Regions from separate parts of the Homo sapiens genome. Here region 2 is linked to region 1. The links are contacts of gene promoters, found by promoter capture Hi-C in blood cells and fetal thymus (Javierre and others, 2016). All regions are on one chromosome and are shown on one strand. Each heading gives the region's core, a stretch centred on a gene start or on the middle of the fragment in contact. The rest is flanking DNA. Distances are from core to core; before and after follow the strand shown. Region 1 holds the start of S100A7 (S100 calcium binding protein A7). Region 2 holds the start of S100A12 (S100 calcium binding protein A12).

Region 1 (4,757 bases), core at 1,325-3,824:
CACTACACTCTAACCTGGGTAACAAGAGCGAAATTCTGTCTCAAAAAAAAGAAAAAGAAAAAAAAAGAATAAGACTACCGCATCTTGGTGACTTGCACACTAATCAATAAGAAATATTCTTCTTTTTCATTTAATCCCTTTTCTTAGAATTCTTTGTTGTCTTGTATTAATATTGTTGTCCCTGATTCCTTTTGTATTACTTTTCCTCTGTTCCTTTTTTCTAAACAGTGATGATACATAACTCAAAATGAATCATAGACCTACATGCAAACACAATGTTACAAAACTCCTAGATGGTAGCATAAGAGGAAATTTGATCATCTTGGTTTTGGTGATGACTTTTAGATGGCAACACCAAGGCACAATCCATGAAAGAAAGAATTCATAAGCTGGACTTCTTTAAAATTTAACATTTCTCTTTGTGAAAGATATTGTCAAGAGAATGAAAAGATAAGCCACAGACTGGGAGAAAATGTTTACAAAAGACATATCAGACTTTGTATGTTATCCAAAACATACAAAGAACTCTTAAAACTCAACGATAAGAACACAAACCAAACAATTAGAAAATGGGCCAAAGACCTTAACAGATATCTCATCAAAGAAGATACAGAAGGTGACAAATAAGCATATCAGAAGATGCTCCACATCATATGTCCTCAAGGAAATGCAAATTAAAACAACAATGAGATACCAGTACACACTTATGAGAATGCCCAAAATCTGGAACACTGGACAACAGCAAATGCTGAAGAAGGATGTGGAGCAACAGGAACTCTCATTCATTGATGGCAGGAACACAAAATAGTACAGCCACTTTGGAAGACAGTTTAGTGCTTTCTTAAAAAACTAAACATACTCTTACCATAGGATCCAGAAATCACACTCCTTGGGATTTACCCAAAAGAAGTGAAAACTTATGTCCACACAAAAACCTGCATACACATATATATGAATATATGGCACAATGGTGAAGTCTGGGCTTTTAATGAAGCCATCCTAAATAGCATGCATTGTACCCACTAAGAAATGTCTCATCCTTCACCCACCGCCTCACCTGCTGCCCTTCACAGTCTCCAGTGTCTATGATTCTACTCTCTACCTCCATCTGTATGCATGATGTAGCTCCCACTTACACATGAGGTTGCACAGTATTTGACTTTCTGAGTAATTTCACTTAAGATAATAGCCTCCAGTTCCATCCATGTTGCCGCAAAAAGCGTGATTTCATTCTTTTTTTATAGCTGAGTAGCATTCCACTGTGTGTGTGTGTATGTATCTTTTGCTGTTAAAAGTAATATTGCCATCACATGGGGAACTGGGAGAGGGAGAAACAGGTCCCCCTGGTTACATAGGTACTGACGAGAAGGAAGTTGAAGAAAGATGATGGGTGGAGAAAATAGGTCCCACCTAGGGAGACATCACATCAGCTCTGTGGAGCCCCAGAGTGCTTAAAGGGCTGGCACTAAATGAACCTGGAACTCTCTTGCACCCTAAAAGGAACATTGCAAGGGGGTAGCAGAAAAAGTCCATTTCAGTGATTCATCATCTCCCTTTCCTCACCATGCCCCAGGGATTCCCATGCCTTCCCAACCCTCTTGCCCCTACCTGGGTCAGCCTTTCCACAGCAGGTTAGGGCACATTATAGCCAAGGGCACAACTCCCAACTCCTACACAGGCTGTTTTGCATAGGAGGAGGAAAAACACTGAAGACTTTCTGGGAAGTTAGTGCCATGGGGCAGGAAAGAACTTTTCCCACTCCCTGCCTCCAGGCTCATTCCATGGGGGGGTCACTCCACCACTCAACCTAGATAGTGAGGCCCCTGACCCCAGTCCCCCCACCTAATTCCAGGGCTTCTGTGAGGGGCTGACCAATGGTTAGCAATGAAGTAACCCTGCTTCCCTCCCTGGACTTTGAGTTCCCATAGGGCAGACCCTGATGTGACCCAAGACCTATAGCACAGGGGATAAGAGTAAGGATTTGATTCAGGCTTTTCTGAGTCCATATAATGATTTGTTGTGTTTACTAGCTGAGTAAACTTGGGAACATCTCAACTTCTCCTTTCCTAAAATAGAGATTGAAGCACCTCTTAGGACTATGAGGGTTGAGGAGGATGCAGGAGCAGCAGGTATCTTGATATCTAGACATTAAAATGCTCAGTCAGCGGTGGGGGTCATAGAACAGGCTGTCATAACAAATGTGTGGAAGGATAAGGGGAGGGAACAAACAAGACCATGCTGCCTTCAGGAGTCTGAAACTCCATCCTCTTTGGGTCCAGAGGCCCAGTGCTCTTTTCTCCCATTTTCTGACCTGCTACTACACATGTACCGCTGCCTTACCCTCAAATCAAGGTTGAGCCAGAGAAGACTCCAGGTGAGGTCTCTGGGGTGGGGTGGGACCTGGTGACCTGGGACACTGGCCAGAAATCCTGAGCACAGCCTCCTGGGTGTGTCCCACCCACCTGATGTGGGGCAAGCCTCCAAGAAACAGATGACAGAGGTGGCCCCAGGCCTCCCAGCCCCTGGGAAGAGCCAGGCTGAGCCTTATAAAGGACTGCTCTTTGTCCAAACACACACATCTCACTCATCCTTCTACTCGTGACGCTTCCCAGCTCTGGTAAGTCTCACCTGCCTCTTTGCGTTTTCTAGAAGTGCCCAGTGCCTGGCCTGCCATGCTGCCTGTAGGAAGGGAAAGGGCTGTGGACAAAGACTCAGAAGCCTGGGTCTAGGCCAGCTCTGCCATTAGCTGGGCTGTGTGACCTTCACTTGACCCCAAAAGCCCACGTCTGTATAACCAGGTGGCTGAACCAGACCTGTCCATTGCTCCTTTGGGATCTCCTGAGGCAACTCCTGTGGAAATGTCCCCAGTGGGACCTGAGCACAGGACCCTCCCTGTCCTCTTCCTCCCTGGATTCATCCTCCTGTTGGGGTCCCGGTTGCTAAATCCCCTCCCCAGCTCCAGCTCCACAGAGGGTGGAGGGCTAGGGGTCCCCTGTGAATGCTTTGGAGGCTCTCCAAACCCCCAGGCCTGGGACCCCGACACAGCATAGCCCTGGCCAGATGGCTTGCCCCTACCTGGGTAAGGTATTGAGAAACCAACGCTCCGTCACTCCCTACCACAACCTGCAAATTGTCAGTCACCCTCTGGGCACAGGGCTTGCCCTCTGGCCTTGGCCTCAGATTCAAAAAAGCTCTGGGTGGCTCCTCTTAGTCAGTTGCCGGCATGGAGCTTTCTCCTGCATTGAGAGGTGTTGGGGGTTTATTGTCAGACACCCATATGCATTAGCCAAGGTCCTTTCCTGGTTCTTTGGAAAGTGTGGGAAGTGAGAACTGCACTGTCCTATTTTTCAGGCTTGGGGTGCAGGCCAGCCCAGACTGACTACTGGCTGAAAGATCTGCTTTGGGAAGTCAGACATTTTTATTTAAACAGTCAAGGCTTGGTGATTCAGAGGGTGCAGATAATTCCCAAGAGCAGACATGAAGTGACTCCCACCTCACTCCCACCCCGTCCAGCAGCTTAAGAACCAGAGAGTTATTTCTGTTCCTTGTAACAGAGGCCATTCCTGTTTCTCGTTCCCAAGGGAATACAAGAAGGGCCCCCTGTGCTCGGGACAGGACTGTGTTTCCTGCTAACACTCACGTCCACGCTCACATGTGCACCTGGAGCCTGCACACACCGTGTCATGCAGGGCTTGCACTTGAGTCAAGGTGGGGCCCACGGTGTCTGGTTCCTGAAGCAGCCGAGGAGGGTCAGACACCAGATCACCAAGGCCATTGTCCTGCCCCCATGACTGTCACCCCGACTGTGAAGCTGGAGGAGATGGATTTGGTGCTCTTTTAAGAGTGGGGTCTGCCATGTGCTGGCTGAGGCTGGGGTGTCCCAGCTTAGTTCTTCCATGTGTTGCTGGCGCCCGACTCTCCCTGCTTCTCCCTCTCTGAAGCACTGTCCACAGCTGGACTTCCGCCATCCACCTGCATCTCCTCTTGGCCCTGGCCAGGATGGGCCAGGTCTCAGACTTGGTCCTACCCTCTCATTTTTGAGCAACTTATCCCATCACATTAAAAAAAAATTGAGTTCGTTCTGCTACACCTTATCCGTGTTTTTACTCTGTCCTCAGCCCTCCTTCCAGCACTCCCAAATAGAGACCCTAACTTAAATGAAGGGAAAAAAATGATTGTCTTTATTTCCTGAAGGCTTTTTGAAAGCAAAGATGAGCAACACTCAAGCTGAGAGGTCCATAATAGGCATGATCGACATGTTTCACAAATACACCAGACGTGATGACAAGATTGAGAAGCCAAGCCTGCTGACGATGATGAAGGAGAACTTCCCCAACTTCCTTAGTGCCTGTGTGAGTCGGTGTCTAGCTTCTCAATGTTGGAGGATACATTTTGCTATGTGGCCTTGGACAGATCACCCTCACCCTCTGATTAAAAAATTTCCCATTTGCAAATAGGGCTTTATTACTTGGATCATATGTGAATCTAAGGATGGTAGGCAAAAAAGTATGAAAATGGGAAAGAGTTATACAGATATAAAGGAGGTTATTAGATGGTCAGCAAAGTGTGCAGCTTGAGGGCAGTGCACAGTCCCCTCCCAGCACTCACTGACCCTCTCTCTGTGAGACTGAAACTCACATGCTCAGGTCCTGTTTCCCAAAGGCCCCACATCAACATCCCTGAGATTACTGGGAAAGCACTAGAAGTTCCATTGTTAGTAGAAATCAATAGCCCTCTTTGCAATAAACAAGACTCAT
Region 2 (5,138 bases), core at 2,525-5,024, 85 kb after region 1:
TAAAACCAAAAATAGACAACTTTTCTTAAACCTTTCCAATGTAGAGAACAAAATCTTACGAAAACAGGAATGCCAATTCTGTAATCATTTTTCTAATTAGGTAAATAGAAGTCCTTATGTATGTGTTTCAAGAATTTCCCCCATAACATCCTTTATGACAAGTTCAATGGCAGTTTGTGTTTGGTGGTAAAGGATTTTCTCCATGGCCTGACTTAAAACCATTGGAAAGCACCAGGCAGTGGGAGCAGTAACCACCTGATGTCTGTTCTCCTGCATCCCCTGTCCAGGGTCATGGGGCGGCGTGCCTCATCTATGTTAGAGGGTAAAACTGATGTGTTTAGTGCTGCGTGGGATCTGGTGCTCCTCTTCAGGATTCACATCCCCACCCAGGGCCTGCTTTTACTGAGTGTTCTGCCCTAGCCTGGTTCAAGGAAGTCATGCAACTGACTTTATCAAGTGGAATTGGGATATATTTGTTATATATTTACCTAAAAACATGGAAAGGATTTTCCTCCTTCTTCCCCTGCAAGGTACATTCTACAGCTTTGAACTTCCAAGTATGCCTAGTCACCTTTTAAAATGTAAAAGTTTTCAGAAAAATGAGGATTGCTTTCCTTTTATGCACTTATTATCTTGACTACCTAAGTTGCAAGGTATTTTTATATATTCATATGTTCAAAAGCCAGCAACTCTCCTGTTGGTCCATTATTGAATGTGCTGTGAATGAAGTCTTTTGCAATTAAAATGAGATTCGCCCACATCCAAGATGAAAAAAAAAATTCCCTCTTAACACTACTTTTGCTACATTCCAGATGTTTTGATATGTTGTGTTGTGTCTCTATTTTTGTATGTTTCAAAGAATTTTTTGATTTCTGCCTTAATTTTGTTGTTTAACCAAAAGTCAGGAACAAGTTGTTTAGTTTCCATTTATTTGTGTGGTTTTGAGAGTTCCTCTTGGTATTGATTTCTATTTTTATTCCACTGCGGTCCAAGATTCTTGGTATGATTTTGATTTTTTTGAATTTATTGAGATTTGCCTTATGACTGAGCATGTGGTTGATCTTAGAGTATGTTCCATGTGCAGATGAAAATAATATATATTCTGTGGTTGTTGGGTGCATTGTTCTATAGATGTCTATTAAGTCTAATTGGTCAAGTGTCAAATTTAAGTCCATAATTTCTTTGTTAGTTTTCTGCCTTGATGATTTGTCTACTGATGTCAGTGGGGTGTTGTCCCCTGCTATTATTGTGTGGCTGCCAAAATCTTTTCTTAGATGCAGAAGTACTTATTTTATAAATCTGGGTGCTCCAGTGTTGGGTGTGTATTTATTTAGGATGGTTAAATTTTCTTGTTAAATCGAACCCTTTATCACTATGTAATGCCCTTCTTTATCCTTTTTTACTGTTGTTGGCTTACAGTCTATCGGATCTGATTCAAGAATAGCAACCTCTGCTCTTTTTTGTTTTCTGTTTGCATGATAGATCTTTCTCCATCCCTTTACTTTGAATCTACAGGTGTCATTACACATGAGACAGGTGCTTGAAGACAGCAGAAGGATGGGTCTTGTTTTTAAATCGAATTTGCCAAGGTATGTGTTTTAAGTGCAGTGTTTAGGCCATTCACATTGGAGGTTAATATTTGTATGTGAGGCTGTGTTCCTGCTTTTTTGATTTCTATTTTTTTTTTTTGAGAGGGAGTCTCACTCTGTTGCCCAGGCTGGAGTGCAGTGGCGCGATCTCGGTTCACTGCAAGCTCCGCCTTGTGGGTTCACGCCATTCTCCTGCCTCAGCCTCCTGAGTATCTGGGACTACAGGTGCCTGCCACCATGCCTGGCTAATTTTTTGTATTTTTAGTAGAGATGGGGTTTCACCATCTTAGCCAGGATGGTCTCGATCTCCTGACCTCGTGATCCGCATTTAGCAACCTCTTGCCTGGATGGCTGGGATCCTGGGCTAGTCCCTTCTCCAGGCAGATGTGAAAAAAAAAAAACATCTCAGGATCCCAAACTTACTAAGCCAGAGGGAAAAGTCAAGCTGGGAAATGGGTCATGCAAGCCTGCCCCCACCCAGGTTGGTTTCTAAATAAGATAGCTACAAAGATAAAAAGCCATACACCAATCTCACAACTTGCCCACAAGGAAATTCCTTGTGAGCCTCAAGATCTTTACCCTAAAACAGTTCTATTGAATTTCACCCTGGCAGTGTAATTGACAGCTTATCTTCACAGGTGTGGGACAAAGGGCAGAACATAAAGTCATCCCTCTGCTCACCCAAGACAAATCCATATCTGATTGCTTCCTCTCCCCTATTTTTGTTATCTTATGTAAAAATGCAGATTCACTGAGCCAGATGAAGGCATAAGTGACTATTTCCTCTACTCCGCTCCCACATGAAAATTGTGTATTCAGTGAAAGATTGATCAAAGACTCAAAAGGATGCAATCACTTGTCTCTTATCTACTGACACATTTAAAAAATATTTCTTCCTCTTCCCCCAATATCCACTGTTTCTCCTTCAAATATTGAAGCCCTCAAAATCATCTTTGGAGAAAGACGTAGACCTACCTCTGGGCACGCATCCTTAACTTTGGCCAAATAAACCTCCTAAAATGATTGAGATTCACCTTGGTCATTGTCATTGATTTACACAAGCCTGATCATCCTGCTCTGGTGGTGTCCTCCTGGGCCTAGTGAAACAAATACTGTCAATGGCTTAACAATGTTGCACTGAGATTGTGTCAGTCAAGGTGACACATGGATCGGAGAGACAGACTTTTGCCTCCAGATCCAGAGAGGTCGGTGGGCACATGAAATGAACTAGCTTTGCTAAGGGGGATATCTGTGTTGTGGGGTAGATGGCAGCACAGGTTCTGGCATGGCCTTGATTGCTCAGCAATCTTATTGACCTCTAGGCATAAACCAAGGGCAGAGTGCTTTTGGATGTCCCTTAGCTTTGGTGCGACATGGGGAATGTACAGATGAGACTTAATCCATTTTGGGCAGGTTTCTGAATCTTGAAGGACCACCTCTCCATGAATCCTGGGCATCTGTTGTCCCTTGCTGCCTCTCTGTGAGTAATAAAGTTGCTTTACTAAAACTCGTGTGAATGTTCTGTCTTACTGAACTCATGAACATGGTAAAGTAACCTAGGCATGGTGAACTTTCTTCACACACAATGATTACCCTACTCCAGCTTTCTAGGTCTTTGTAACAGCCAAGTTAGAAAGTTGGGAAAGCAAAGGGGAGGCATAGTAGCATTGCTCTCTCCTTTTTTGAAAACCTTGGAATCTATTTTGAAAACTGATCCTCTGCTCCAGTGATGAACTTTGCATCCCAGAACGACTTAGGAGGAGGTCTCCCTACCTATCTCCTTAGCTGCATAAAGATCTTTAAGTTGATATTCCATTTGCCAAAACTGAAGAGCTGGTAACCTCATCTGTTAAAACAAGACACTCAGGCTGTAAAGTTTGTTCTCCTAGTCTTTTATTAGGGAGCAGTGGAGTAGAGCTAAACCTGAAACCTGGGCCCTGGCTCAGGGCTAAAAAAGGTTCAGGGCACCCCTGTGCGGGTGGGTGGAGTGGGGGTGATTTTGTTTCAGGCTGAGCAGGAGGGCAAAATTCAGTCTGGGTACAATCTGGGCTGCTCCTGTGGCAGCCTAAGCCACAGGTTTGAAGCTTCTATTGAGCAACAGAGTACTTTACATAAATTGCCTCAAGATGAATCAGAGATTTCTTCACCCAAGGGCTAAGATGAAGCCTGAACTGATTATAAAACCTTCCTTGGCTCAGTGCCCTTCACCACTGCTGGCTTTTTGCTGTAGCTCCACATTCCTGTGCATTGAGGGGTAAGTGCATTTTCCTTGGATGGGTTCTTAGGTGGTCCACAGGGTAGTGACTGCAGGTGACCACTTTGAAATCACAAGGTGTTGGAAACCACAACCCTCCACTTGCCTGAGCACCTCTGGGGTGATATTGCATTTTGGACCCAAGTAGATCAGCTCTTGTTGTGCTATGTAGACTCAGTCCCATGATTTAAGAATGGCTAAGCAGGCCGGGTACGGTGGCTCACGCCTGTAATCCCAGCACTTTGGGAGGCCGAGGCGGGCGGATCATGAGGTGAGGAGATCGAGACCATCCTGGCTAACATGGTGAAACCCCGTCTCTACTAAAAAAATACAAAAAATTAGCCGGGCGTGGTGGCGGGTGCCTGTAGTCCCAGCTACTCGGGAGGCTGGGGCAGGAGAATGGCGTGAACCCGGGAGGCAGAACTTGCAGTGAGCCGAGATCGCCCTACTGCACTCCAGCCTGGGCGGCAGAGTGAGACTCCGTCTCAAAAACAAACAAACAAACAAACAAAAAACCCAAAACAACAACAACAAAAAAAGAATGGCTAAGCAGGGGTGGGTTATGGACCATTTGTGGGGGATATGTGGCCATAGTGCCATCACCTGAGGAAAGCAAACAGCCTGGCCAATCACAGAACCCTTCCCAAGGGACCTTGAGTAAGCAATACCCTCCAAGTTATGCACCCCGGTGGATGAGGTGGTATGGAACATGGGCAACTGAGGCTGATTTTTTTAGACGTTAGACAGTATTATATGTTTTCTCCTCCCCATCCTATCCACACATGAGAAGTTCACCATGGATCAAACAGAGCAGAGACCACAAAATAGATATGGAGGATGTTATGTTTTCTTTAGGCCCTTGATTCAGAAAGAGAGGGGAGAGTGGAGGTTGAGGGGTGGGGGAGAAACTGCCTCTAGACTTCCCTTGTTTCCTTGAAGGTTAACATTAGGCTGGGAAGATGACAAAACTTGAAGAGCATCTGGAGGGAATTGTCAATATCTTCCACCAATACTCAGTTCGGAAGGGGCATTTTGACACCCTCTCTAAGGGTGAGCTGAAGCAGCTGCTTACAAAGGAGCTTGCAAACACCATCAAGGTAGGTGATGCCCCTCTCACTGCAAACTTGCCCATGACCCTGCACTGAGGGGAGTGGCAAGGCCTGGCAGAGGATGGTGGGACAAGGACTGGGGTGGGGTTGGCCCCAGTTTGAGCTCCCAAAGGATGCTCTCCCCGCTGCTGTGGGAGAGGTCCTTTGCTTCCCTCTCTCAATAACTCACTTAAGGCTCTACTCAGT

The links. The method cuts DNA at HindIII sites, captures the fragments that hold promoters and counts their contacts. A CHiCAGO score of 5 or more calls a contact.
Region 2: the fragment with the promoter of S100A12 here is called in contact with the fragment with the promoter of S100A7 in region 1 in 5 of 17 cell types (naive CD8 T cells, total CD8 T cells, naive CD4 T cells and 2 more); the score reaches 7.2 in naive CD8 T cells.

Annotation. Positions count from the first base shown.
Region 1 is chr1:153,458,468-153,463,224 of GRCh38, reverse strand. It overlaps S100A7 (S100 calcium binding protein A7), which reads left to right and starts at 2,574. Exons shown (of 3, transcript NM_002963.4): 1 at 2,574-2,617; 2 at 4,195-4,352. The coding sequence starts at 4,212. The HindIII fragment of the contact is 9,190 bases long and covers 1-4,757 here.
Region 2 is chr1:153,374,257-153,379,394 of GRCh38, reverse strand. S100A12 (S100 calcium binding protein A12) reads left to right here and starts at 3,774. Exons shown (of 3, transcript NM_005621.2): 1 at 3,774-3,843; 2 at 4,783-4,940. The coding sequence starts at 4,803. The HindIII fragment of the contact is 5,829 bases long and covers 3,676-5,138 here.